4 separate regions of the Homo sapiens genome follow, and all the other regions are linked to region 1. Evidence: promoter capture Hi-C in 16 types of primary human blood cells and fetal thymus (Javierre and others, 2016). All regions are on one chromosome and are shown on one strand. Each heading gives the region's core, a stretch centred on a gene start or on the middle of the fragment in contact. The rest is flanking DNA. Distances are from core to core; before and after follow the strand shown.

Region 1 (7,542 bases), core at 4,662-7,161:
GAGGAGCTGTGGAAGGAGAGGAGGTGACATGAAGGAGAGTGAAGATGCTGGGGACGCAGAAAGCCTGCTTTTTAGGCCAGGGGAGAGCAGGATGCAGCGGGGAGAAATGTGGACTAGAGATGACAGAAGAAATGTGGACTGGAGGTGACAAGAGAAAGGCAGGGGCCTTGGAAGCCAAGGTGGTGGGGACAAGCTTCAGAGAGGATGCGGGGGGAGGGGTGGGGAGTGCCGGGTGTCAGAGAAACCCTGGAGGGCAGTGGCTCCCTGCTTGGCCTTCCCAACGGGGCAGGGGTTTAAGGAATGTGACCAACATTTGGCCACAGGAGGCCTGGATGGGCGACTGGGACTCCTTGGGCTTTCTCCACAAGGCCCAGCTGCTGGAGAACAGGCCCGTCACGTGGTGGTGGCTGTCACACTCACACCTGCACACCCTCTTCTCTGATTTGCACACGTGCAGACTTGCACAGGTAGGGACACCACACATCTGCACCCACGCTGGCACTCACACTCCTCTGACACAACTCCCTCCCCACCACATGCAGAGGGAGCCTCCAGTACCAATCTCAGGCAGCTCGGATTCGCTGCTCTCGATCTCCCGCTGGCCAATGTAAAACCAGACGCAGGCGACCCAGTGCGCGAGCAGGGCGAACACGGCCATGAGCAGTGTCAGCACCACGGCGCTGTACTGCGAGTACCGGTCCAGCCGCGGAAGCAGGCGCAGCAGGCGCAGCAGGCGCACCGTCTTCAGCAGATGGGCCCCGAAGTACTGAGATGCGGGGAGGGAGGGAGGGAGGGAGGGAGGTCAGCGGGCCGGCCCTGCCTGTCCCCTGGCCAAGCCCACCCACCCAGCCAGCCCAGCCACACTGACCACGTTGACCTTGAAGGCATGTAGCAGGTCAAAGGGCAGCGCTGCGATGACATCCAGCAGGAACCAGGTGGTGACGTAGTGGAGGCAAATGGACTTTGGGGCAAACACCACCTGGCCCGACTTGGACACGAATGTGGTACGGAAATTCAGCACAATGTCTGTGGGGAATCCGGGTGGGAGTCAGCACTGGGGCTGGGGGGGCAGCCACTCTTGCCTGGACACCTGCTCACTTTCTCAGTAGTTGACACTGTCCCCGGCCCTTCCCATACATCGTCTTAGTTCTCACAGTAACTGTAACAGGTAGACATCATTTTGCCTATTTTACAAAGGGGGAATCTATTTTATGGAGGCTCAGAGAGGCTTTGACCAGCTCAAGGTCATATAACTTCTAAGTGGCAGATGTTTGGAACCTAGGTCTGATTTCAAAGCTCACAGGTTACAAATGAGAGAGAGCGAGGGGGGCACTGTAGCACCCTGGAAGCCACGTGGACTATCCCCAGCAAAGCCCCAGGGCGCCAGCAAAGGGTGGGGCGGAAGGGGCAGAGTGCACGCACCAAGGATGAAGAGGACCTCCACGGCCAGGTCACAGACGCTGGGCGGGCCGCGGGCGGCACTGGGCTCCCGTGCTGTGCTCACACACACGCTGTAGGGCACAGTGACAGCCACATAGAGTGTGGCGAGCAGGATGAAGCCATCCCAGGTGGCTCTCAGTGCCCCACAGTGCAACAGGATGAAGGGCGACTTCCGGATGGCGGCTACTTTGTACTCAGGCAAGTTTGGTTTCTCCCCAAACACCCCCTGAGTGAGGCAGGGCAGGTCCAGGCAGAGAGGAAAGAATATTGGCACAGGCTGAGTTTGGATAGAGTCTGGGACCCGCATCCACCTCCTTTCTATCCCTGCATTATCGAAGCAGCATCTGCTTCGAGATGGCATTAGCATCTCCATTTTATAGATCAGAAAACTGAAGATCAGGAAAGTTAAGTGACTTAGCTTTGGCCACACAGCTGCTTAGGGGAGGAGCCAGGATTGAACCAAGGCCCATCTGCCTCCCAGGCCAGGACTTTCTTCTGATGGATCAGGCATGTGATCTTCCCTCCTTCAGTCCCAACCCCCAAAGTGCTGGCAAGGCCTGGGTGGCCCCTAGGACATTCTCTCTGTGGTAGATCAGGTTCCCCTTCCCCATCTTCTGCGTCTGCCCCTCCCCTCTCCCACACATCCCAGGGCTGAGCCCACCTTATTGAGCTTGTGCTTGCCCTTGGGCTGCTTCTGCAGGTGCCCGGACAGGTGGTAGAGCACGGCCCGGCTCCGCCGCCGGTTGGCATTGAAGCCTTTGGATCGTGCCCGGCCATATCGGCGCCGGCCACCACCTGCGAAAGAAGAGGGGCCCATGAAGATGATGGGTGTGTGCCCACACACCCTAGCTCCGGGTCAGGTGTAGGACACAGTTGCTGGCCCATGGACTGGTCTGGCTCATTGACCACTTAGAATGTTTAGAGTTGGGGGCTCAGGTATTCCTCACTTCCTGGGTTCACTTGCCCAGCCCAGCAATGGGCAGTCCTAGGAGTGTTTACAGACACTACCTCTGGGGTCTGCTTCCAGGAAGAGGAGGTTTGGACCAGAGGATCTCTACGGGGAAAGGCCTGGGACAGGAAGCGAGGAGGTACCTCACAGGGCCAGGGTGGAGAACTAGCAGGAGGCCGTCAGCAGAGGTGTGGGAACTTACAGCAGGAGCCCAGGAGCTAGTGCAGGGACCAGAGGGTGACAATGAAGGCTGACATCATGGAGAGGCAGACCCAGCACTGGGAGTACGCGAGTGGGAGTGGAGAGTACCCCCAGCATCCCCAAATGGCAAAGAGGCCTTGACAGCTTTGTAACCTGCCCAAAGGCCTGCCCCAGCCTTGGAGGACACAAGAGGGGAAAGACTCGAAGAACTTAAAAGCAGGCTTTGCCCAGAGCTCCACCCCCAGTCAGGTTTGCTGTAGGAAAGAGGAACCTGGTGGGTCTGTGCTCAACCTTATTAACTGGTCAGAAAGTACCTGCTTCACAGGTACAATTGGGTTTGTTTGCTTTCAGTTTCTTAATAAAGTTGACTTAAAAACTCCAACTTTGTCTCAATCTGTCTATTTGGAAAAAATATTCCCATACCGAGGAATGTGGAGATGAGAGCAGCACAGGCCTCTCAGGCAGCCTGAGTGGGAGTGAAATGAATGCAGGTGCATGGGGGACCCCCGTACTCAGACTGGGTGCCAAGGCCCCGCCCGGGCCTGCGGCACCCAATACCCCGACCACAGCACCTACATGCACCTACCTGTCTCCTTCCATCTGTCGGGGCCCCCTCGGTTCTTGGTTTCGCTGATGTCCTTGTGAGAGACTAGGAAGAGAGCCACCTCCCCTTTCTCATTCTTTATGGGTATCACATCCAGGAGACACCAGAACGGGAGCCCTGGGCACAAAAACAAACTCAGCCCACCTCCTATTCTCAGCACTGCCTGAGGTGACAGAGGCCCTGGCTCCACTGACATCCCGGGCAAGACACAGGCAGGATCTAGCGGTTTCCTGGGGGAAGGGCTGGCAGTCCAGTTTCACTGAAGGCAGGGCTTGATGGAATTGGGGGAAGGAAGCAAGGGAGAGCAAACATGACGGTCAGACCTGTCGTGTGGTAGATCTGCCCTGCCGAAATGCGGATGTTTTTCTGTTGGATGCGGGAAACCCGAGGTTGGAACTGAATGCAGGCTGAGGCTAGGGTGAGGCAGGTAGAGATGGGGAGCCGGGGCAAGAGGTGGGATGGAGCAAGAGGGGTTGGATGGGGGGATGGGAAGATGGGATGACATGGGGAGATGGAGAAGATGGCAACAGAAAGGAGGAGGGACAGTGGATGGGGCTGGTGCCAGGCTGGGTGAGACTGCAAAGGTGAGGCAGGCTGGCCAGGTGGCCCCTCACCGCTCTTCCGGTACAGGATCAGCTCAGCCTTGAACTCCTTGTGCTCGTCCAGGGCCTTGCGGATCTGTTGGCGGACGAGCTCACTGGTGTCTGGCCCATAAAGGAAGGAGCAGGCACAGCCCCGCTGCATGACCTCAGCCCGGGAGAAGCCCGTGAGGTCACAGAAGCCATCAGAGCAGTAGACCACGGGGAAGAGCCCCGCCACCTGGGCGTTGCCCAGCACGAAGTTACTGTCTGCAAGAGAGCACTTCTCAGAGGAGGCGTGGGGTGAAGGGGCAGGAGGCCTACCACCCCTCCTTTCTCAAATGCCTGCAACCAAAGAGTGGGTTTTCCAAACCCCAGGAATCCTGCGTGTGTTAAGGCAGGGCTGTTTATGAATAGCAATCAGTGTGTGTCACCTGTTTGTCAGTGCCCTGCAGCAGGTGTGAGTACATTCAAGGATCAGCACATGTGAACTGAGGTCGGTGAATGAAGCGCTGTGCGGGCACTGTGCCTTCTGGAGGGTGTCCTGAGCAATGTGGGGTAAGGGCTGGGATTGGGGAATCCCTAATGAGGACTGCCCTGCCAGCTCTGGGCCAGCCTCAGCCCCACCTCTACTTCTGCCAGGCTCACCCACTAGCCAGGTACCCAGGTTGGCTGTCTGGCTTCTCCCACTGAGACACACCTAGACTGGAGGCAACCCCAGACCACCATACATCCTGCTGTCTGTGTTTTAGCCCTAGCTGCCTGACCTGGCTCAGGAATTAGTGAATGTGATCAAGAATGGGGGTGTAAGAATGGTGACTGAGCACGGGAGCCAGGAGCCAGGAATGTATTGGGGAGTGGGGGGCACTGAATCAGCAGGCTGCAGGAGCCAAGCACACTGGCAAAGCAGATGGAGGAGCCCGGAGTGGGGAGAGCGCAGGGCTGGGCTCCCACCCCCTATCAGGAACCGGAGACCAAGGAGGACCTAGGCAGAGAGCTGGGAAGCCCCACGGGGGATGTGAGGGAGAGGAGGAGGGAGGGGCTTTCATCACTTCCCCTGTGCTCAGAGCCCCCAGAACCGGGGATCCAGAGCTCGGGGCGCCTTCTCCAAACTTCCCCAGTCCTGATGGGAGTCCCCAAACCATCTTCTTGGGGCTAGATGGCCTCCCCAAGTCTAGGGGGTTCAGGCTATGAGACACGGGGCTTGGACACACGGTGCTCTCCCGAGTGCCGCCTACTCTTATCTCCGTTTGCAAATCTCTTTTCTAAATCTGTGTTTTGAGCCCTCTCAGCTGTCCCTGAGCACTGTTCACCCGCCTCGCCTTACCCCACCAGTCCGAGGGTAGTTGCTGCGACAGCGCCAGACGCAGGGGTGGGATGGGTCAGACTGACTAGGTTCGGGTTCGAGACCCGGCTAACAGAGAGCATCCCAGGACCCACACCCAGGGACTTCTGGCCCTGTTGCCTCGCCTGAAGCAGTGTTGACCCCGAACCTTCGAACCTTCGGGGAAACAGCGCCTAGCAGGAGACGATGGCCCCAGCCTCAAGAGGGGCGGGTAGGGAGGAGAGGGTGAGAATAGGCTGGCGCCAAGCTGGGCTGCTGGGGGTTCGGGGAAGGCGGGAGCCCTGGCGAGGGTCCGGCGGCCCGGGTGCAAGTGGGCGAGGGTCGGACTCACGCGTGCCGTCGAAGCGCGTAGCGATGGTGTCCAGGAAGGTGTTCTGCGGCGCCAGGAGGCCCCGCATGGCCGGCATCTTAGGCGCCCGCGGCTGCCCGCCCCATCCCTCCGGGGTGCGGGGACTCCGCGCCGGGGGAGGGCGCCCAGCTCGGCCGCCCCCCGCCGGGCCCCGCGCTCCCTAGCGCAGCCGTCGGGGGGCAATGCGCAGACCGGGATCCGGGGTCGCGCCGGACGCTGGCGCGCGAGGGGGCGTCCGCGCCGTCGGGGCCCGGAGCATGGCGCGCGGCCCCTCGCGCCCTCGCCGCCCACAAATCCCGGGCTCCAGGCCCCGCGGCCGCCGCGCTCTCAGCACCTCCCGCCGCGGCAGCGGCTCGCGTGTCGGCTGCGGGTGGGCTTCCGCTCGGCTTCGCTCGGCGCCGGCTCTCGGCAGCTCCCTCCGTCTGTCGGGGAGAAGCTGCAGCCTCCCTCCCTCCCTCCCGCGCCCGCCGCCTGCACCGGGGTAACCATGGAGACGGGGCACACCCAGCCAGGGCCGCCTCCTTAAAGGGACAGGCCTCCCGCGGAGGGCTCCCCTCCCTTCGGGACCTCGGCGGGGGCGGGGAGGTGGCGGCCGCCCTGATCCCACCCCGCGGGCCTCCCCGCCCGTACCTCGGAGAACCACTGGCGAGCGGCCGGCCCCCTTTGGCTCACTCGGCCTCAGCCGCAGAGGGGAGGCGTCTTTCTCTGCAGCCCGGGGGCTCTCCGAGAGCCTCCTAGCAGCCTCTCCTCCCCCGGCGGAATGGGAGGGGGGCTCGGGGCGTGGGGGGCAGGGGACGCATGCTGTGGAAGATGCTCTCCCCGAGGAAAATGCAGTGGGCAAGGGGACAGGGCGACAGGCGCAGGTGAAGGCCCTGCGGCCAGCGGAGGCCGGCGCTCTAGAGGGGCTCCAGCCGCACCCGGGAAATCTAAAAGCAGATGGGGCGGGGGTTCTGCGCGCACAGCTGCCCGGCCCTCGAGACTTTCTCATCCTCAACTTGACGCTCTGGAAAATGGATCCAGCTGCTCCTATGAGGTGTCTCCGCAAGCAGGAGCTGCCTGGAAACCAGAGGGTGGGTAGCCCTAGGAGTAAGGGTCAGACGTCCTCCGTGTGACCCCGTGGGCGGAAAGGGTGTGTGGTGGGGAGGGGAGCGCCAGACCCCTTGTCCTGCCCCTCCATTTCCCTCTGGCATTTGTCACCTCTTGCCTCTCCTAAGCGCGCTAGAGGGTCAGGTGGTAAATACAGGGGACCGGCAGGGGTCAGACACTGCGAAAAAACTTCCGAACCTTGTGCGTGCGGGTCCTGGCACCAGGAGAGCGAGGAAGGCCGAGCCCCGCGCCTCACGCAGCTCGTCCTGGAGAGCTCCGCGCGGCGCCGCGCGGGGTGCTGCCCTGGGGCGGCTGCAGGGAGCCCCTTCCCGGCGGGGCGGAGCCGGGCCCGGGGCGGCCGTCTTTTCTTGGCCTCCCGCGCTGCGACGGTCCCCCGGACTTGCCTGCCAGCGCCGCTCCTCCTCCCTCCCACGATTTGCCAGCGAGCGCGGCTGCCGCCCGCGCCCAGAGGAGCCGCCGGGGCCAAAACAGCAATTTGTTCCCTAACGAGCGAAGCGGTAGGCTCAGCACCCCCATCCCTCGAGACGCACTCACAGTCACCAGCATCAGAAAGATGCTACCCCTCATCAGCGACGAGAGCCAAAGCCCCAGGCACCTGTATCTAAATGAGCTGGCGCTTTGGGAAGGGAGGACGCGCTCCTCCTTCTCCGGTCCTGTGAAGCCTGGAATCTGGTCCCCAGGACGAGGAGTGACCCTGAGGAGTGACCCTAAGGAGTCGGGAGATCCTACTCCCATCTCATCCCCAGCCTTGGCTGGATCCTGGCTGTAAAGTAATCCCCTCCCCCAGCCGTTCAAGGCTTCCTCTCCAGGCGGCGGTCCAGCTGTCTACTAAAAAGAAGGACATTTTAGGAGTCAGTTCACTTTGAGACAGGATAAGGCCACAATTGAAATCACCCACCCACTTGGGAACCAGGTCTGCCACTTGCTGTCCCTGTGATTAAATTTTTTTTTTAATTTTGGTCTGTGTGA
Region 2 (7,233 bases), core at 778-3,277, 160 kb after region 1:
CGCCTGTAGTCCCAGCTACTCAGGAGGCTGAGGCAGGACAATCGCTTGATCCCGGGAGGCGGAGGTTGCAGTGAGCCGAGTTCGAGCCACTGCACTCCAGCCTGGGTGACAGAGTGAGACTCCGTCTCAAAAGAAGAATAAAATAAAATAAAATAAAATAAAATAAAATAAAATAAAATAAACATTAACTCAAAATAAATATCCCAGCACTTTGGGAGGCCGAGGCGGGCAGATCATCAGGTCAGGAGTTTGAGACCAGCCTGGCCAACATGGTGAAACCCCATCTCTACTAAAAATACAAAAATTAGCCAGGCATGGTGGCGAGCACCTATAATCCCAACTACTCAGGAGGCTGAGGCAGGGGAATCGCTTGAACCCTGGAGCTGGAGGTGGCAGTGAGCCAAGATCGTGCCATTGTGCTCCAGCCTGGGTGTCAAGAGCAAGATTCTGTCTCAAAAAATAAATAAATAAAATAAAACAAAATGCAACAATCATGACAACTCTATAGTAGGATTACTACTGCATCCATTTTACAGATACAGAAACATAGGCTCAGAGAAATTAAATGACTTGACCAAGGGAGTAGGTAGGGGAGTAGATTCAAAGCCAGATTTGTGTACTCAATGGCTTGTGCTTTTAACTAACATCTCATACAGCTTCCCTATTTTAATAAGTTAAAAGAAAAATATTGGAAATATTATACATAGAAATAACTATACTATCAATATTGGCCTGATCATATTATATATAGAAATATTATAACTATACTATCAATACTGGCCTGATCATAACTAACGCCATTCAGTAGATACACATTTCAGGCATCAGAAACTTCAGCTACCAAAAAGGTTAATAATATACTTGGGGCTATTTCACAATGGAAATAATTAGCCCGTACAGTGTGAAAGGATGATGTGTTCTCAGCTTTACTGCCCAATGAAAAATGTAATCATATAAAAATTGAATATAATCCTACTTAATGTTGCTGAAATGTTAAGATTTCAGGTAACAAGTAATCAGGATGAAAGTATCAAATATCCTTCCTTTTTTCAGAAGCTTTTTCATCAGGCTAGAGACCGAACACACATTTAGTAGTCGTTGTTACGCATTGTTCCCTGTGCTCCCAAATTACAATAATATCATATAATAATATCCTATAGTCTAATTTATAGGATCATCATAACATTATGGACTGGTAGGCTAATGACAAATGCCAAATATCAACTTTTAAAATTCCTAGATACAATACAACCTTTGAGTAATAACAGAGGTGAAAAACATTAACCAACTAAGCTTTGTTTAAAGCATTATCAACTTAAGAAATTAGACATTTCAACAAACCTAGTGTATTCAGTGTGTATATTCTAGATGAACAAAAAAAAGAAGAAAGAAAACCTCCTGTGTGCTGATAAGATTAACGAAACACTGGGCTGGGTGAGGTGGCTCATGCCTGTAATCCCAGCACTTTGGGAAACCAAGGCAGGCGGATCACAAGGTCAGGAGTTCAAGACCAAACTGGCCAAGATGGTGAAACCTGTCTCTACTGAAAATACAAAAATTAGCCAGGCACAGTGGCAGGAGCCTGTAATCCCAGCTACTCAGGAGGCTGAGGCAGGAGAATTGCTTGAATCCGGACAGCAGAGGTTGCAGTGGAGCTGAGATCGCACCACTGCACTCCAGCCTGGGCGACAGAGTGAGACTCCGTCTCAAAAAAAAAAAAAAAAAAAAAAAAAATCAACAAAACACCGGCCAGGTACAATGGTTCACACCTGTAATCTCAGCACTTTGAGAGGCCAAAGCCAATGGACTGCTTGAGGCCAGGAATTCAAGACCAGCCTAGGAAACATAGCAAGACCCTGTCTCTATAAAAAATTTAAAAATTAGCAGGGCATGGTGGTACGAGCCTGTACTCCCAGCTACTAGGGAGACTGAGGTGGGAGGATCACTTGAGCCCAGGATCTGGAGGCTGCAATGAGCCATGATCACATCACTGCACTCCAACTTGAGCGACGAAGCAAGACTCTGACTTAAAAAAAATCAGGGGCGGGCGTGATAGCTCAGGCCTGTAATCCCAGCACTTTGGGAGGCCGAGGCAGGCGGATCACCTGAGGTCAGGAGTTCAAGACCAGCCTGGTCAACATGGTGAAACCCCGTCTCTACTAAAAATACAAAAAATTAGCTGGGCGTGGTGGCGGGCACTTGTAATCCCAGCTACTCGGGAGGCTGAGGCAGGAGAATCACTTGAACCTGGGAGGCGGAGGTTGCAGTGAGCCAAGATTGCACCACTGCACTCCAGCATGGGCGACAGAGTGAAACTCCATCTTAAAAAAAAAAAAAAAAAAAAAAAAAAATCAGGCCAGGTGCAGTGGTTCATGCCTGTAATCCAAGCATTTTGGGAGGCCAAGACAGAAGGATCATTTGAGGCCAGGTGTTTGAGACCAGCCTGGACCCTGTCTCTATTTAAAAATTAGCAGTACCAGATGGTGAGCACCTGCATTCCCAGCTACTTGGGAGGCTGAGGCAGGAGGATCACTTAAGCCCTGGGAGGTGGAGGTTGCAGTAAGCCAAGATTGTGCCACTGCACTCCAGCCTAGGAGACAGAGCAAGACCCTGTCTCAAAAAAAAAGAAGTTTAAGCTACATGGCTGGCTTCATCTGCAGTGTTATGTCCCACCTACCATTCAGCTACAATACATTAACTTCCCGTCATTACATTAGTTACAGATGAGTTTCACTGTTTTCATCACATGTCACAAAGCTTCTTATGAAGGCATGCTATACAAAGGGCTCCTGCAGGACATGCAGGTAGATTACAAGAGCAATTTACTATAAAAATGTAACTAGATATCCAAACAAGGTAAGCAGAAGAGTCACTTCTGCCACACACTAATGTACATTTTGAATCATTTTTAACAGTAGGCCAGGAAGAGCCAGCAGTGGGCTAACCACACTGACATGCTATGATCAGAGACCAAGTGGATAATGTAAGGAAAAGTACTGCTCAACTACAGAGGGTAGCCTTAAAACAAAAGCAAGTTATTTAAAATAGGAAAGACTGCAGCTTTTACAAATTGGTCTTTTCAGTCCTATCCAGGTCAGTAAGAAGTAATATCATTGGCAGCATCTTCAAGTACAAAAGATATTTACTTATCTATCCTGGCTCATTCACAATCATATAATGGCCTCATCACAAACATCCTTCTCCTCCGTCCTAATACCCTTTAGCAAATTCTAAAGACCACTACCACCACACACACACACACACACACACACACACACACACACACACACACACACACACACTCCACAACTTGCAATCATACATCTTGTTAATTAAGTAATGTAAAAATCATCCTTCTTACCAGCAATCCAAGGTTGTTATTTATTATAGGATTTGGACTGCTAAGAATCCCTGTGTAACCCTTGGAGATCCCCCAAAACCTCCAATCAACCTATGCCTTTTTTTTTTTTTTTTTTTTTTTTTTTGAGACAGATCCTCGCTGTTTCCCAGGCTGGAATGCAGTGGCACAATCTCGGCCCACTGCAACCTCCGCCTGCCAGGTTCAAGTGATTCTCCTGCCTCAGCCTCCTGAGTAACTGGGATTACAGGCATGCACCAACACACCCGGCTAATTTTTGTATTTTTAGTAGAGATGAGGTTTCGCCATGTTGGCCAGACCGCTCTTGAACTCCTGACCTCAAGTGATCTGCCCGCCTCGGCCTCCCAAAGTGCTGGGATTACAGGCGTGAGCCACCGCACCCAGCCTTCAACTTATGTCTTAACCACAAATTAGTCATAGGACAATGGCTGCAGAAGTTACCTTTAAGTAACATCTATATCCTCAGACCCTGCAGAATGTTTCAAGGGCCTGCAACTACTGAAGAATCTGTATAGAAGATGGTATATATTTCAGGAACCCATTCCTATAGGCTGCCATGGTAGATGTGAACATGGGAGAGTAAATGCTGGCTTCTGGCCTATCCTTAATATCCAGTGGCTAAAGATAATAAAGTGAGCTGGGCACTGTGGCTCACACCTGTAATCCCAGCACTTCGGAAGGCCAAGGGCAGGAGGATCGCTTGAACCCAGAAGTTCAAGACCAGCCTGGGCAACAAAGCAAGACCCTGTCTCTACAAAAAATTTTAAAACTAGCTGACTGCCATGGTGTGTGCCTGCAGTCCTAGCTACTGAGGCTGAGGTGACAGAATCACCTGAGTTCAAGGAGTTCAAGGACGCAGTGAACTATGATGGCACCACTGCACTCCAGCCTGGGTGACAGAGCAAAACCCTGTTTCCAAAAAAAATAAAAATTAAAAAATAATAACATATTTATAAACTTCAATTTTTTTTTTTTATTGTTTAGAGACAGGGTCTCTGTTGTTTAGGTTGGAGTGCAGTGACATGATCATAGCTCACTACAATCTCAAACTCTTGGGCTCAAGCAATCCTTTTGCCTCATCCTCCCCAGAAAAGCTATGACTACAGGCGCCAACCACTATGACCAGCTAATTTATTTATTTATTTAGAGTTGGAATCTCGCAGTGTCGCCCAGGCTGGAGTGCAGTGGCATGATCTTGGCTCACTGCAACCTCTGCTTCCTGGGTTCAAGCAATTCTTCTGCCTCCCGAGTAGCTGCGACTACAGGTGTATGCCACCACGCTCAGCCAATTTTTGTATTTTTATTAGAGACAGGGTTTCACCATATTGACCAGGCAGGTCTAGAACTCCTGACCTGATGATCCGCCCACCTTGGCCTCCCAAAGTGCTGGGATTACAGGCTTGAGCCACCATGCCCAGCTCTAATTTTTTAATTGTTTGCAGAGACAGGGTCTCGCTGTTGCCCAAGCTGGTCTCAAACTCCTGGTCTGAAGCAATCCTCCCACCTTGGACTCTCAAAGTGCTAGGACTGAGGTCAAAGTGGCCTCCCACCATGCCCAGCCCCCAACAAACATCAAATCTTTAGAAATATTTCAGATTCAATTCAACTGAATGGCAATTGGACTGGGTTTCAGACAGACCACCTACAAAGTAAGTGTGGGCTCACAAAGTCTCCTATAAGGCCCCCAGAAAATGGCATATGAGCCTGAAGTAACTATGTCACCCAATAATATCATGAAGCAAGATGCAGGGATAATTAACTTCCATGTAACATTTAGAAAATGCAATGTGAGGCTGGGCACTGTGGCTCAAGCATGTAATCCCAGCACTTTGGGAGGCCGAGGCGGGTGGATCACCTGAGGTTGGGAATTCAAGTCCAGCCTGACCAACATGAAGAAACCCCCTCTCTACTAAAAATACAAAAAATTAGCTGGGCGTGGTGGCACTTGCCTGTAATCCCAGCTACTCAGGAGGCTGACGAAGGAGAATCGCTTGAACCCGAGAGGTGGAGGTTGTGGTGAGCTGAGATCACGCCATTGCACTCCAGCCTGGGCGACAAAAGCAAAACTCCATCACACACACACACACACACACACACACACACACACACACACACACACACACAAAACAGAAAATCAAATGAGAGGCTAGGCTCATCCTAAGAGACAGTTCACTGCAGCCATTTCAACCTATTATATTTGGTATTATGTTACAGCTTGCATACTGTACAAGGAGGGAGAGAAAATGGAGCCAAATGACTTCAACCAATCTTACTTTCTATTCTATGTATTCCAGGTATCCGCTCGAAATATTTAAAGCATACAGCAGACACGAAATTTTTTTTTTAATGAATGCAGGAAGATACAGAAGGTAAGCAGTAAGCAGCATCTCATACATGTAAAACATGTTTAAATGAAAAAAGTACCCTAAATTTCAATCAAAGGCAGCAAAGTATACTAAAAATGTTGACGCATTTTACATAACATATAGAGCATTCTTAAGACGATCATTCATATTTGCACATAACTGGAAAGAACTGTATATAACAAATGGTTCCTTCCACATTGGATACATGAAAACTGGGTAAAACATTTCCTTTTGAATCATTTCCACCCTAAGTGTCCTGCTAGCAATACAGAAAAAGTCAATAGAGAAAGCACCATCAAGTGCTACCTTCAGGTAGCATATGACAAAATCACCGCTTAAAAGTAACCAAGCCTCAGCAGGCCACAGTGGTTCACGCATGTAATCTCAGCACTTTGAGAGGCTGAGGCGGGTGGATCACTTGAGGCCAGGAGTTTGAGATTACACTGGCCAAAATGGCGAAACTTCATCTCTACTAAAAAGACAAAAATTAGCCAGGTGTGGTGGTGCATGCCTGTAGTCTCAGCTACTTGGAGGCTGAGGCAGGAAAATCGCTTAAACCCAGGAGGCAGAGGTTGCAGTGAACTGAGATCGTGCCACTGCACTCCAGCCTGGGCGACAGAACAAGACTGTCTCCAAAAAAACAAATAAAAAATAAAAGTAACCAAGCCTACTCAAAAAACTAAACATAGAATTACCATAGGATCCAGCAATTCTACTTCTGTGTAAATAGAAAAAAAAAAAAAAAACCTGAAAGGAGGGCGATATAGTTTGGATCTGTGTCACCACCAAATCTCCTGTCAAATTGTAATCCCCAGTGTTGAAGGTGGGGCCTGGTGGGAGGTGACTGGAATATTGGGGTGGTTTCTCATGAATGGGTTAGTACCAGTCCCCTGGGGTTGTTCTCACAAGATCTAGTTGTTTAAACGTGTGTAGCACTTCCCCCCACCTCTCTCTCTTCCTCCTGCTCCAGCCACCTAGACATGCCTGCTTTCCCTTTGCCTCCTGCCATGATCATAAGCTTCCTGAGGCCTCCCCAGAAGCTGCTATGCTTCCTGTACAGCCTGCAGAACCATGAGCCAATTCAACCTCTTTTCTTTATAAATTACCCAGTCTCAGGTATTTCTTTACAGCAATATGAGAATGGATCAATACAGAGGGACTCGAACAAGTATTTGTACACCAAAATTCACAGCACCATTATTCACAACAGCCAAAAGGTGGAAGGAACCCAAATGTCCATTGAGAATGAATGGATAAACAAAATGTGATGTGTACATACAATGGAATATTATTCAGGCTTAAAAAGGAATAAGATTCTGACATATGCTACAACATGGATGAATTGTGAAGATATGCTAAGTGGTACACACCAGACACAAAAAAGTAAATATTGTATGATTCCACTTACATATGAGGTAACCAGGGTAGTCACATTCATAGAGACAGAAAGTAGAATATTGGTAGCCAGCAGCTGGGTAGAGAAAGAGA
Region 3 (7,319 bases), core at 3,474-5,973, 140 kb after region 1:
AACTTTTGTATTTTTAGTAGAGACGGGATTTCACCATGTTGTCCAGGCTGGTCTCGAACTCCTGACCTCAGGTGATCCACCCACCTCGGCCTCCCAAAGTGCTGGGATTACAGGCATGAGCCACCACGCCCAGCAAGAATTCCAGTTTTTGAATCGCTGAAATAACAGCTTTTTACTTTTGACCACTTTGGCCCCAGGAGTAAATAAGAAGTAACAGAGCTCCAGCTCCTCCGCCTTTCCCTACACCTGCACTGCCAGAAGTAAAGGGAACGTCCACTCTGCAGCTTCTTCACTACCTCTGTCCTTCATGTGCTTACACTACAATTTGCCTTGAGACATCAGGACTAATGTCATCATGATGTGTCCCTCTTTACGTTACTCACCACGAAAATCCCAGGACTCTCAGGTCATTCTGAATCCTCAAACTCTCACCCCCTTTCTCCACTCCTCCTCAATTCCTGAAATCTTTGCATCATATCCCCTGGAACACATCAGCTAAATCCCCTATATCTTAAACCTCTTGTCTGAATGGTCCCTTCACTCTTTTGCTCCAAACGAAATCTAATTGCTCTGAAGCCACTGTTCTCTCTATAGTCCTATCCGTAGTGTTTTCTCTCTCACACTCTTATACCAGAGGGCCTAGAGGTTAGAAGAGGTAAAGTTATTTATCTTGTACCTAGTTTGTTTCCAGATAATTCCCCCTTCCTTCCTGAAAAAAGCCTCCTGTCAAACCATACCACCACTACCCCCTTCTTCTTTACATTCATCTGATATGCCTAGGTCACTTCTCAAGCCTTAAGCCTTGAAGACTTTAGTTCCTGGTTCACTGGGCTATCATTCCAGGCGATTTCAATGTTCATATAGATGACTGTTCTGATGCTCGCACCTCTCAGTTCCTTGACCACCTCTCATACGACAATCTCGTCCTTTACCCTACATTCCACTCACTCCCACAGTCAATACCCTAGACCTTGTCGTTACAATAATTATAGTCCCCCAACAATCTCAACTTCAGCTGCACTCTACTCTCCAATCACCATTCTGTATCTTTTCAGATTGCTCCATCTAGCACCCTAACTCTAAAAATCCTTTGACCCCACCAGGATTTATAAGCCATTGATCCCATTCCCCTCTTACATCCTCATTTTCCTCCTCAGCTTCAAGTTCAAGGTCCATCATTATAATCATTCCCTTGCATACACCTCAAGTCTCTTGACTTCCACTCTCATTTCATCATACCTGCCTGGCAAAACACCAACCCTGATTAAATACAACCCCTGTTAAGAAAAACAAAAACATTTAGGACATTCGGGAGGCAACTGGAAATTAGAAAACTAACAGCTGGGCATGGTGGTGCATGCCTATACTCCCAGCTACTTGGGAGGCTGAGGAAGAAGGATCAACTGAGCCCAAGAGGTCAAGGCTGCGATGAGCCGTGTTTGCACCACTGCACTCCAGCCTGGGCGACAGAGCGAGACCCTGTCAGACAATCAATCAACCAATCAATCAATCAATAAAACAAAAACTAGGCCAGGCAGGTGGATCATTTGAGGTCAGGAGTTCAAGACCAGCCTGGCCAACATGGCGAAACCCTGTCTCTACTAAAAATACAAAAATTAGTTGGGCAGTGTGCTACATGGCTGTAATCCCAGCTACTCAGGAGGCTGAGGCAGAAGAATCGCTTGAGTCTGGGAGGCGGAGGTTGCAGTGAGCTGAGATCGTGCCACTGCACTCCAGTCGGGGCGACAGAGTGAGACCCTGTCTCAAAAATAAATTAAATTTTAAAATAAAACAAAAACTAAAAAAGAAAAGAAAAAGAAACTGACAGGATATTTGATATCAAGGAATTGTTAAATCTTTTAGTATGGTAATGGTACTTTTTGGTAAGAGTTCATATCTTTTAGAGAAACATGAAATATTTAAGCACAAAATATGATGTTTGGGATTGCTTCAAAATAATATGGAAAAGTAGAAATGGTTGAGGGTACAAATAAAACAAGATTAGCAGTGAGTAAATATTTGTTGAAACTGGGTGATGAGTACATGAGGGCTCTATTTACTTTTGTATGTTTAAAATTTTCCTGAATAACATGTTTAAAAAAAATGCAGCTGTCCATCTACTCTATGCCTGCACCATGCAGCTAAATGTGGCTTTAAAAAGGAAAAAAAGAGCCAGATGCAGTGGCTCATGCCTGTAATCCCAGCACTTTGGGAGGCAGAGGCAGAAGGATCATATGAGCCCAGGAGTTTGAGACCAGCCTGGTCAACATAGGGAGACCTTGTCTCTACAAAAAATTTTAAAATTAGCCAGGCATGGTGGTACTTGGCTATAGTTCCAGCTACTTGGGAGGGTGAGACAGGAGGACAGCTTATCCCAGGAGGTTGAGACCAGCCTGGGCAACATAGTAAGACTTTGTCTCTACAAAAAAAAATCAAAAAAATTAGTCAGGCGTTGTGGCACATGCCTGTGGTCCCAGCTACTTGGGAGGCTGAGGTGGGAGAATCACTTGAGCCTGGGAGGTTGAAGGATGCAGTGAGCTATGCACCACGGCACTCAAGCCTGGCTGACGGAGTAAGATCCTGTCTCAAAATTAAAATGAAATAATAAAAATAAAACATTCATACTAAACAGTTCTCACATAAAATTCACAACAGCTAACTTCAAATGGTCTCTTAGCTCAGCATGACAATCAAAACTTTTGCCTCATCCATTCATTCTCCCACTCCTCTATTTGGTACATTTTATGCCATTTTCTCTTTCCTCAAGCTATCAATGAACATTTCCTCGTCCATGCTTACTCCTAGTTGCTGCCCTTCCACTTCCTCAGTGAAAGAGAAGGCAATCACTACCACCATTTGCCCTGTCCTCTCTCCTGTTATGCACTGTAGATGAACTGACTGCTCCTATCTACAGCCAACTCCTCCACTTGAACACCAGACTCCAAACCCTATTGCCTAGTCATTCCCCTTTCTCCCTCCTGCATCAGCAATATTTCCCTCTCTACTGGTGCATCCTCATCAGCACTGTAGAAACATACTCTCAGTTATCTCACTGAAAAAGATAAGCCATAACCCCAGTTTCCTCACCAGCTACTTATCCATTTCTCTGCTCTCCTTCACAGCAACACTCCAAGAAGCTGTAACTGTCTCCAATTCCTTTCCTCCCATTCAAAATCACCCCAAGAGGCTTTTGCTTCCTGATTACCCTACCAAAGCCTCTCCCATCAAGATCAGCAAGAAATTCCAAATTACTAAATCTGATGGTCAATTTTTAGTCATCTTACTTAGATATCTGCAACATCTAGTATACCATGTATATTCTTACTTTGTCAAAACATTCCCCTCCCCAGAATATAAACTCAAGGAAGACAGAGAGGTCTGTTTTGTTCACAGCTGTAACTCTAACAGTGCCTGGTACATGGTACCATATTTTTTTCTTTTTTTTGAGACGGAGTCTCGCTCTGTCGCCCAGGCTGGAGTGCAGTGGCGTGATCGCTGCTCACTGCAAGCTCCGCCTCCCGGGTTCACGCCATTCTCCTGCCTCAGCCTCCCGAGTAGCTGGGACTAAGGCACCTGCCACCACGCCTGGCTAATTTTTTGTATTTTTAGTAGAGATGGGGTTTCAACACATTAGCCAGGATGGTCCTGATCTCCTGACCTCGTGATCCGCCTGCCTTGGCCTCCCAAAGTGCTGGGATTACAGGCATGAGCCACCGCGCCTGGCCATTTTTTTCATATTTTAACATCTCTGAAAACCAGGCACAATTAATGACATCTTATAATTGCTATTTGTTTCTTTCAAGCACCTGGGGCACTACCAATCCGAAACAACTTTTAATTAGAATCTCTGTTTAAATTTTGTTGTACCACATAGGGAGTGTGAATTCAGACCTAGAACCAGTTTAAATTCCCATGAAAGTTTTTAGCCCTCCTACACACCATCAAAGTTGAGACACAAGATGCCTTGCTATGCCTTTCTGTATGGTGGGTTTACTTCTCATTTCCATTCTCATGTAGTTTCCCAGCTTTATGCGTGGCCCCTAATAGACTATCCATCTTGGGCTTATTTCTCTTTTCTAGTAGTACATCAAGTAATGGTGTATCTTACAACTGATGAAATCAGAAATAGCAATACAAGTATGTTATTACAGAAATGGAGATAAAAATATTAACTAAAAAAGCTAAAAGTGCTTCTGAGAAAAGGGAAATAAAGGAAGGAGTGCTGCTTTCTTAAAACAAGCTTTACAAAACTATTTGATTCTATAAACCATATTCACACATAACTTTGATGAAAATGAACCCTGAAAACCAAAGGAAAAAAAAAAGAATTATATGCTCTTTGAGAAAAAAATTAGAAAAAAAGACACGAAAACGTATGTGGACATGGGGGAAATGCAGGGGTCAGAAGGTGAGAAGCCCTTGAGTCTGGCAAAGGCAAAATAAAGAGGAAGGACAAAAACAAAAGGAAGAAAAATCTAGGGCAGCTTTGCAAGTACTGGAGACAAAGCATGCTAAAACAGCCTAAGAGAGAAAAAGTCAAAATTGTCAGGCTGTTTTCATTGAAATTGTAGGAAATAGTACAGAAATAGACCTTTTCAAACAAGCTCCCTATTACCTAATGTACATCTCCACCTGGATATCCCACAGGAAACTCAAATTGAACATGTTCCTAGTAAAAGAGCTGTTTAACTCAAATCATTTTCTGGAAAACATGGGGGTTGGTGGGATTTCTGTATTTACATATAAAGGATTAAGTGTGTGAGGGGAAAAAAAGAATATCCGTAATCCAAGTAAATATACCATCAATTAAATTTTCCAGATTTCTCATGTTTGAAAATTTAACACATCTCAACTAAGTTCATCCATTCCCAAGCCTGTCCTTCTTCCCATAGTGCCTATGTGGGTGGCACTACTTGGTCTCCCAAACAAGAAACCCAGGAAGTGATATGCGTTCTTCCCTTTATTCTCCCATCTTCATCCAATACAATCCCGCCTAACCTATTTCTAAATTCTCTTGAATTTATCTTCTCCATTCCACCTTCCTTCTATTAGGACTTCAATCTTCCCTGGAGTACACCAATATTCTGTAACGTTCCAACCAGCCTCCACATAACTGCTGAGGGGATCCTTCTACATTGAACATAAGCCTGTTCGTGTCATTCTCCTGTTTAAAACCCCCTTATATAAAGTTCAAGTTCAAGCTTCTTAGCATTGCAAATAAAATTTTTTATGAACTGGCCCTAGTCTGGCCCCCATCCTCATTTAAAACTACTTATTCATTCATTCATTCAGTCAGCCATCAAATTTTTCTTTTCTTTTCTTTTTTTTTTTTTTTTTTTTTTTTTGAGACAGGGTCTCCCTCTGTCTCCCAGGCTGGAGTGCAGTGGCTTGATCTCACTGCAATCTGCACCTCCTGGGCCCAAGCAATCCTCACACCTCAGCCTCCTGAGTAGCTGAGACCACAGGCTCACACCACTCATTTTTGTATTTTTTTGTAGAGATGGGGTTTTGCCATGATGCCCAGGCTGGTCTCAAATTCCTGAGCTCAAATGATCTGCCCACCTCGGCCTCCCACAGTGCTGGGATTACAGATGTGGGCCACCATGCTCGGCCAATGGATCCTTTTTTTTTTTTTTTTTTTTTTTTTAAAGAGCTAAGAGTCTCACTCTGTCACCCAGGCTGGAATGCAATGACACCATCATAGCTCACTGCAGCCTCAAACTCCTGGGCTCAAGTGATCTTCCCACCTCAGCCTTCCACGTAGTTAACACTACAGGCATGCACTACCATATCCAGCTAGCTTTTTTTTATTTTTTGTAGAGATAGGGTCTTGTTATGTTACCCAGGTTGGTCTCAAACTCCTGGCCTTAAGCGATCCTCCCATCTTAGCCTGCCAAAGCTGTGGGATTACAGGAGTGAGCCACAGCACTCAGCCAGCCAGTAAATATTTATTGAGCACTTATAATATGCCAGATTCTATACTAGGCACTGGGGAATATACTAGTGAGCAAAACAAAATTGTCCTGCACTTTCCTAGCTTACAGTCTAATGGAGGAAACCGCTCAAATACATGCACCCACTCAGCAAACATCTTTTTAATATCTACTTGTATAAGCACTCTTCTCAGGACAGGAAATACAGTGATGAGCAAGACAAAGTCCCTACCCTCAGACAGTTTACATTCTAATAAAAAACTATGATACATGCCATGAAAATAAAGCTTAGGATGCTATGATATCCACAGGGAGAAGGAAACCTGAAACAAACTGAGGAGTCAGCAAAGACTTCTCTCAGGAAGTGATAACTGAGGTCAGAGCCCAAAGATGAGAAGGTAATGATAAGAGAAGAGGTGGTGGCAGTGAAGAACATTCCAGACAGAGGGAATAGCAAGTACAAAGGCCCTGTAGCGAGTGGGAACACAAGGCATTAGGGAAATAAATGGCCAGGTAGCATGGGTAGGAATGGTGCCAGATGAAGCTAAAAACACAGGCACTAAAATGTAAATATATTAATGATCACTGTGTTGGGAATGGATTATTAGGGGTACAAGAGTGGAATCAGAGGAGCTCATTTAAAAGGCTATTACAGAGCTGAAGTCCAGAGCTGAAGACAAATGATACACATGAATACCTGAATCGCTAGGAGTTACAAAAGAGTTTAGGCCACAGGCCATGTACTCAGCCCAAAACAAGATGGAACTGAGCATAAATTAAGAAACAAAAAGGACTGCTCCATCCATGAAATGCGAAGTAGAAACAGCTCTCTAGCTAGGAGAAGAGAAAGCCTTGCATTTGGGACTAGGAATGGAAAAAGTTACCTGGAAGAAACTGGATCCTAGTCCTGCACCATTCACAGATGTGAGATCTAAATTCATACTACACATGTGGTAGAGGGACCCCAAGCTGACACTTTATCATAAATAAGATTCAGAACTAAAGAATGAAATAGTACCATAGTAGAAGCAAAGGAGAAACTATGCAGTAGGGAAGCTTCCACAATCTGAGGTACATAGGACTCAAGTTCAGGGTTAAAGAAAATACACACACATACACAGACAGAGAAACAAACCTCCCACGAGGAAATCAGCAATCAAAGACAGCACCCCAAGAATAAGAACACGATGAAGACAAGGAGATGCTAAAACCCTTGTACACTGTTGGTGGGAATGTAAAACAGTGCAGCTGCTATGGAAAACATATGACATGATCCACTAATCTCACTTCTGGATATTTATCCAAAAGAACTGAAATCAGGATCTTGAGGGGTATTTTCATTCCTACGTTCATTGTAGCATTATTCACAATGGCCAAGATGTGGAA
Region 4 (7,360 bases), core at 217-2,716, 180 kb after region 1:
AGAAGACTTGCAAACATGAGACAGAGAACAATTTATATGGCAACATGCAAGAAACTTATTGATAGAACAGTACAAACTAGATGGGAATACAGAAGGAATTCAAAGGGCAAAGATTACTAGAGGTGGAATTAATCAGCAAAGGCATCATTTAGGGATAAACCTTAAGCTAGGTCATAAAAGAAGTGTAAAGATTTGTATTAGCAAGGCTAGGCATGGTGGTTAATGCCTGTAATCCCAGCACTTTGGGAGGCTGAGGCCGGTGGCTCACCTGAGGTCAGGAGTTCGAGACCAGCCTGGCCAATATGATGAAATCCTGTCTCTACAAAAAATACAAATATATTAGCCTGGCGTGGTGGCGGGCGCCTATAATCCCAGCTACTCGTGAGGCTGAGGCACAAGAATCACTTGAACCCAGGAGGCGGAGGTTGCAATGAGCCAAGATCACACCACTGCACTCCAGCCTGGGCAAGAGCGAAACTCCATCTCAAAAAAAAAAAAAAAAAAAGATTTAGCAGAGAGGAAAAATAATTATAGGAAAGAAGAAGAACATCAACCAAAGGCAGAAATATCAAAACAAACACATTGATGGAGAAGAATTAGAGCCTGAAGGGAGATGGGTCTGAAATGATCAGTCATCTTGGCTGTGCAAGAAAAGTCAACTGCTAAGACGAAGTAAGTTTGCAGGCACTGAATATCAAATTTACTGAATATTAAACGTACACTCTCTCCTGTGGTTCATGGGAGGGAAAGGGAGGAAAAAGCAAGAGAAACCACGTCTAAAGTGGGTAAGGATATGGAAGGAGGGGTGGGGGAGTAAAACAAGCCTCAGTGGCCCTCAGATCTGTGACTGGGAAACACCTGAACCAAAGACGTTTTATGTCCCACAACCCCTTCCCATTCTTTTCTTTTTTTTTTGAGACAGAGTCTCGCACTGTCACCCAGGCTGGAGTGCAGTGGCGCGATCTCAGCTCACGGCAACCTCCACCTCCCGGGTTCAAGCGATTCTCCTGCCTCAGCCTCCCAAGTAGCTGGGACTACAGGTGCGCCACCATGCCCAGCTAATTTTTTTGAAGTTTTAGTAGAGACGGGGTTTCACATGTTGGCCAGGATGGTCTCAATCTCTTGACCTCGTGATCCACCTGCCTTGGCCTCCCAAAGTGCTGGGATTACAGGCGTTAGTCACCGGCGCCAAGCCCCATTCCTTTTTTTTTTTTTAAGAGACAGGGTTCTCACTCTGTTGCCCAGGTTGGAGTGCAGTGATGGGATCATTGCTCACTGCAGCCTCCAGCTCCCAGGCTCAACTGGTCCTCCCATTGCAGCCTTCCCAGTGGCTTGGACTACAGGTGTGAGCCACCAGGCCTGGCTAATTTTTTTTTTTTTATAGAGATGGGGTCTCCCCATGTTGCCCAGGCCGGTCTCAAACTCAAGCAATCTTCCCCACTGGGTTCAAGTGATCCTCCTGCCTTAGCCTCTCAAAAGTGCTAGGATTATAGGCATCAGCCACTATGCCTGGCCTTTTTTTTCCCCACTCTTGAGACAGATTAATAAATTTCTTATTTATTTATTTGAGGCAGGGGCTTGCTCTGTTGCCTAGGTTGGAGTACAGTGGCAGAATCATAACTCACTGTAGCCTCAAACTCCCGGGCTCAAGTGATCCCCCCGCCTCCGCCCATCATCACACCCAGCTCCCGTTCCTTTTCTGGTACTAATTCACCTGAAATGTGCCTGAGCCATTGATTCTAGGAAAAATGCCCTTTTAGGTGTTGCTTGCAAAGCCAGGCTCACATGCTGACTCAGTCACTGCCCAGCAGATGTTCCCCACAACATTTCTCAACCCAGAATTGGGACTGAGGTCTGGCACAGAATGGGTTAAAAGATTCCCTTCTGGGCTGGGAGTGGTGGCCTGTAATCCCAACACTTTGGGAGGGCAAGGCGAGCAGATCACCTGAGGTTGGGAGTTCGAGACCAGCCTGACCAAAATGGAGAAACCCCCGTCTCTACTAAAAATACAAAATTAGCTGGGTGTGGTGGTACATGCCTGTAATCCCAGCTACTCAGGAGGCTGAGGCAGGAGAATCGCTTGAACCCGGGAGGTGGAGATTGTGGTGAGCTGACATGGTGCCATTGCACTCCAGCCTGGGCAACAAGAGCGAAACTCCGTCTCAAAAAAAAAAAAAAAAGATTCCCTTCCAAGTTTCCCATACAGGGCACTGTTTTACTGCTTTGTTCTGTTGAAACTTGTCAGTAACGTTTAAACCCAGAAAGTCCAAGATCCTTGCTTAGAGTCATAATAGTTTGCAAATAACCAGATGGACTATGGAAAGGGTGAATGAGAGGTGGGGAAAAAGAAGAATAAGAAAGAAAAGAGAGAACAAATTATTGAAATGAAGTATCTTTAGCTGGAACCCTACATAAATTTTTTACTTTTATTGCTCAAAACTCATCTTAGCAAAAACAAAACAAAACAAAACAAAACAGTTGAACAACTTTTAATCCCTTGAGGCGACTAACAGAAATACTGCAGGGAACATGAAGCAAAAGAAAAACATTTTAAATCACCTTCTCAGGGTGGGAACTTCAAAAGCCAAAGCACTGGCATGAGATGTGCGTTCAAAGTTCTAACATGAAATAGACAGCTCTAGATTCCCCTAGGAGATTAAATGACAACTGAAAAGCATGCTTCAGTTGGAGCTTGCTTTGAATAACACCCCAAATCCAACTTCACAGTTGCTTGCTCCTTCTCAGCAAAAGGAGAGGACTGAACTCTGGTAATGAACCTGCTATGGAGGTGCCACTACCACATTTTTTTTTAAGTGAAGGGGACAGCCGAGGGACATATTTTACCATGACAGCCTTGTAGCGCCATCTGCAGTTCCTAGCTAAGACTACAACAAACCACACGTCTCCAGGCTTGTTAGGACCACCCCACTGTTCAAGAGAAAAGAAAACTAAGACATAGAGTACTAAAGTCAGTGAGTCCTCAAAAGCCTCCTGGGTCCTAGAGTAGATGCAAACATAGCTCTAAGACACAGTGCCTAGGAAAAGATCTAAGGGCCTCAGTTGACTATAAACTCAATGAGTCACACTTACATAGCAACCAAAAAAAGCTAGTAAATTTTTAGGCTGCTGGATTTAAAGGATGATATATTGTTCAGACCTTGAGAACGTAACAGCCCCACAGTACCCCGTTCTGTCTGAACACGTCTCAGAATTGCATTTAGTTCTGGGCACCACAATTTAAGAGCAATATTGACAAGAGCTATAAAAAATGTTCATACCCTTTGACCCAGTAATCCCACCCATGGGAATTTATTCTAAGGAAATAATTCAAGAGAAGAGATGAATTAGAGCCATGAAGATATCGATGCCACATTATTTACAACAACATTATATAAATGTTTATCAAAAAGGGAATATTATACAGCTTTAAGATATAATGGTGTGTTATTAAAAAATAAAATGTAATGATAATGCATGCTTCAACATATTTGAATCATTTTTTCTTTTCTTTTCTTTTTTTTTTTTTTGAGAGTCTCGTTCTGTCACCCAGGCTGGAGTGCGGTGGCACAATCTCAGCTCACTGCAACCTCCTCCGCCTCCCAGGTTCAGACGATACTCCTGCCTCAGCCTCCTGAGTAGCTGGGACTACAGATGCATGCCACCACACCCAGCTAATTTTTGTATTTTTAGTAGAGACAGGGTTTCACCATGTTGGTCAGGCTGCTCTCAAACTCCTGACCTCGTGATCCGCCCACCTCAGCCACCCAAAGTGCTGGGATTACAGGCGTGAGCCACCACACCCAGCCCATATTTGAATCTTGGAAACATTATGTTCAATGAAAGAAGCCAGACACACACAAAGGACAACATATTGTGTGATGCCATTTAAATAAAATGTCCAGGATAGGCAAATCTAGAGACAGAAAGCAGATCAGTGATTGCAGAGGCTAGGAAGAGGAGGAAACAGAGAGTGATTGCTGATGAGTATGGAGTTTCTTTTTGGGGTGGTAAAACATTCTGGAATTAAATAGAGGTGATAATTATACAACTTTGTGAATCTATCAGAAACCACTGAATTGTACACTTTTAAAGGGTGAAGTTTATGCTATATGAATTATATCTCAATTAAATATATATAATAACAAAGTCTTTATAGTAATATTTTAAAAGCTTATTGAATCACAAGCATTTTTTTATTTTACTGTAAAAACATCATCTTTATCAGGGAGGGGGGAAAGTACAAAATTATGTCCCTGATATGATTCAACCATGTAAAATGATGTACATTTATGAACGACGACTAGAAGTGAACATGAATAACTGAAAACAAACAGTGTGATGCAAGTGAATTTTTGGAGGGTGAGATGGTCATTATATTGTTCTTCGAGCAATTAAATATTTTATTTTCTTCCCAAAACAATGTCCACAAGGGGGCAGACAGAAGATGACAAATAAAACCATTTAATAAAAACCTCAGCTGAAAAGCTAATAACTCCAGAATGCAGGTTGAAAGCAAGCTTAAAGGTCATCTAGGCTGGGGTCAGTAGCTCATGCCTGTAATCCCAACACTTTGGGAGGCCAAGGTGAGAGGATTGCTTGAGCCCAGGAGGTAAAGGCTGCAGTGAGCTATGACCGTGCCACTGCACACCAGCCTGTGCAACAAAGTAGATTTCGTCTCAAAAAAAAAAAAATCATCTAAGTCATCTAAGTCCATCTCCCTCACCTGACAAGAAAGAAACAGAGGCCCTAATGGAAAGGTGGCTCACCCAAAGTCACCAGTATGGTCAATGCAAGAGGTAGAAGTAGAGACCCATCTCTTCACCTCTTCATCCCTCCTCACTCGGACTACAGTGCCTCCTCCTTAAACAAAGTGATGGTAAATGTGGCAAATGAAAGACTTAGAGAGATAGGAGATGAAGGGCAGAATCTCATCAAGAAATGGTTTTTGGTTTTTTATGTTCTTTGTAGCAAGAGATGGCAGGTCCAGAAAGACATTACAAGGAAGCAAATTTAGGAACAATTTAGGGAACAATTAAGGATGTCTAAAAGGTGAGACAGGTAGAAGATTTCCAATTCAAGCAAAACCCGAAATGGTCATCTCTAAGGCAAGCTTTTCCCAAGATTCTGTACTGTATAGTTGCTTGGGATACAGGCCTTCTCAGTTCCCTTCCAACTCTTCAAAGTATCTATGAATTTTTGTTTTGTGCAAATGGGAGAATATGAAATCACTGGATTTCATTAAATCAACTAAGGTAGAAAATAAAGAAGACTCACTTGTTAATGTCTTAGATTTCCTATTATTTTACTAAATGTCCTTTTTTTAAGACCGTATTTTGGGTTTTGTTTTAATTTCATTTACTTATTTGTTTTTATTTTGTTTATTTATTTATTTATTTCAGACTGTGTCTCACTCTGTTGCCCAGGCTGGAGTACAGGGGCGCAATCACAACTCACTCATGATTGACCTTCTGGGCAGCCACATTTTCTTTTTTCTTTTTTTTTTCTTTTTATTTTTTGAGACGGAGTCTCACTCTGTTGCCCAGGCTGGAGTGCAGAGGCGCCATCTCGGCTCACTGTAACCTCCGCCCCCCTGGGTTCAAGCGATTCTCCCCACTCAGCCTCCAGAGTAGTTGGGACTACAGGCGTGTGCCACCATGCCCGGCTCATTTTTGTATTTTTTGTGTTTTTTATTTTTTGAAGTGGAGTCTCACTCTGTCGCCCAGGCTGGTGTGCAATGGCGCAGTCTCAGCTCACTGCAACCTCCACCTCCTGGGTTCAAGTGATTCTCCTGCCTCAGCCTCCTGAGTAGCTAGGATTACAGGCATGTGCCACCACGCCTGGCTAATTTTTTGTATTTTTAGTAGAGAAAGGGTTTCACCATATTGGCCAGGCTGGTCTCAAACTCCTGACCTCAGGTGATCCACCAACCTCAGCCTCCCAGAGTGCTGAGATTACAGGTGTGAGTCACCACGCCTGGCCACAGCAACCCTTTTAAAGTAGATACTTGGCTCATACCTGTAATCCCCGCACTTTCGTAGGCCAAACGGGAGGGTGGGTTGAAACTAGAAGTTAGAGACCAGGTTGGGCAACATGGCAAGACCCCATCTCTACCAAAAAAAAAAAAAAAAAGAAAAAAAGCCAGGTATGGTGATGCCTGTCTGTAGTCCCAGCTACTTGGGAGGTTGAGGCAGGAGGATCACTTGGGCCCAGGAGTTCCAGGCTACAGTGAGCTGTGATCACCCCACTAAACTCCAGCCTGGGCAACAGAGCAAGACCCTGTCTCAATAAATAAATAAATGAAAAAACAATTTTTTTTTTGAGACAGAGTCTCGCCCTACCACTCAGGCTGGAGTGCAGTGGTGCGATCTCAGCTCACTACCTCATCTCTGCCTCCCGGGTTCAAGTGATTCTCCTGCCTCAGCCTCCTGAGTACTTGGGATTACAGGCATGCCCCGCTGTACCTGGCTAATTTTTGTATTTTTAGTAGAGATGGGTTTTCACCATGTTGGCCAAGCTGGTCTCAAACTCCTGACCTCAGGTGATCCGCCTGCCTTGGCCTCCCAAAATGGTGGGATTACAAGCGTGAGCCACCGCGTCCAGCCAAAAAATTTTTTTGAATAAAGTAGATACTATTATCTCAATTTTAAAGGAAACTAAGATTCTAAGAGGCTGAAGAAATAAAAAATACGACAACTAGAAAATAACGTAACATGATTCAAATCCTACTGTTGTTCTTCTGACTCTAAAACTCATGCTCAAGGATGAAAGACAACTCATAGGCGAGGGAAAAATATCTACAACACATATTACGAGGGTTAAGGTTTCTAACATGCAAGGATTCCACCAAACTAGATTTGAAAGCGACAAATAGGAACACAACTTTAGAATAAATGGAGAATATGATGAAGCAATTCACTGAAGAGAAAATCCAAATGCCCAATAAAGATTTGAAGAGATGCTGAACTTCATTAGGAGTCAGGGAAATGCAAATTAAAGTAATTAGATACTATTTCTCACGATCATCTTGACAAAAGTTTAAAAGAGTGGTAACATTCCAGGCCAGTTACAAAGAAAATGCCAGTTTCTTGCACTTGGTGAAAGTCTAAACCATTAAAACGTTTTTCAGAAGAAATCTGATACAATATCAACCAAATACATTTGTTTGAGGCAGGTTCTTGCTGTGTTGTCCAGGATAGAGTGCAGTGATACCATCACAGCTCACTGTAGCCTCAACCTCCCAGGATCAAGCAATCTTTCCACCTCAGCCTCCCAACTAGCTGGGACTACTGGCACATGCCACCACACCTAGCTAATTTTGTGTTTGTTTGTTTTGTTTTTTTAGTAGAGATGAGGTCTCACT

Evidence for each region. The method cuts DNA at HindIII sites, captures the fragments that hold promoters and counts their contacts. A CHiCAGO score of 5 or more calls a contact.
Region 2: a fragment that was not itself captured here is called in contact with the fragment with the promoter of KCNH3 in region 1 in 9 of 17 cell types (endothelial precursors, M1 macrophages, activated CD4 T cells and 6 more); the score reaches 7.6 in endothelial precursors.
Region 3: a contact is called between a fragment that was not itself captured here and the fragment with the promoter of KCNH3 in region 1, in 1 of 17 cell types (endothelial precursors). The highest score is 5.1, in endothelial precursors.
Region 4: a fragment that was not itself captured here is called in contact with the fragment with the promoter of KCNH3 in region 1 in 16 of 17 cell types (endothelial precursors, M2 macrophages, M0 macrophages and 13 more); the score reaches 16.2 in endothelial precursors.

The regions. Positions count from the first base shown.
Region 1 is chr12:49,537,399-49,544,940 of GRCh38, reverse strand. KCNH3 (potassium voltage-gated channel subfamily H member 3) reads right to left here and starts at 5,911. Exons shown (of 15, transcript NM_012284.3): 1 at 5,449-5,911; 2 at 3,809-4,042; 3 at 3,177-3,311; 4 at 2,102-2,235; 5 at 1,423-1,666; 6 at 869-1,026; 7 at 559-766. The coding sequence starts at 5,524. RefSeq lists enhancers at 1,022-1,935, 1,282-2,481, 4,288-4,337, 4,982-5,791, 5,792-6,603 and silencers at 5,921-6,100, 6,831-6,950. The HindIII fragment of the contact is 19,285 bases long and covers 196-7,542 here.
Region 2 is chr12:49,371,211-49,378,443 of GRCh38, reverse strand. SPATS2 (spermatogenesis associated serine rich 2) reads right to left here. Exons shown (of 14, transcript NM_023071.4): 2 at 7,154-7,216. Among named protein-coding and RNA genes, the nearest start is that of SPATS2, 7.4 kb to the right of the region's middle. The HindIII fragment of the contact is 1,464 bases long and covers 1,296-2,759 here.
Region 3 is chr12:49,396,162-49,403,480 of GRCh38, reverse strand. All of the region lies in intron 2 of SPATS2 (spermatogenesis associated serine rich 2), which reads right to left. Among named protein-coding and RNA genes, the nearest start is that of SPATS2, 32 kb to the right of the region's middle. The HindIII fragment of the contact is 961 bases long and covers 4,243-5,203 here.
Region 4 is chr12:49,354,343-49,361,702 of GRCh38, reverse strand. No RefSeq gene overlaps it. Among named protein-coding and RNA genes, the nearest start is that of SPATS2, 9.4 kb to the left of the region's middle. The HindIII fragment of the contact is 5,412 bases long and covers 1-4,172 here.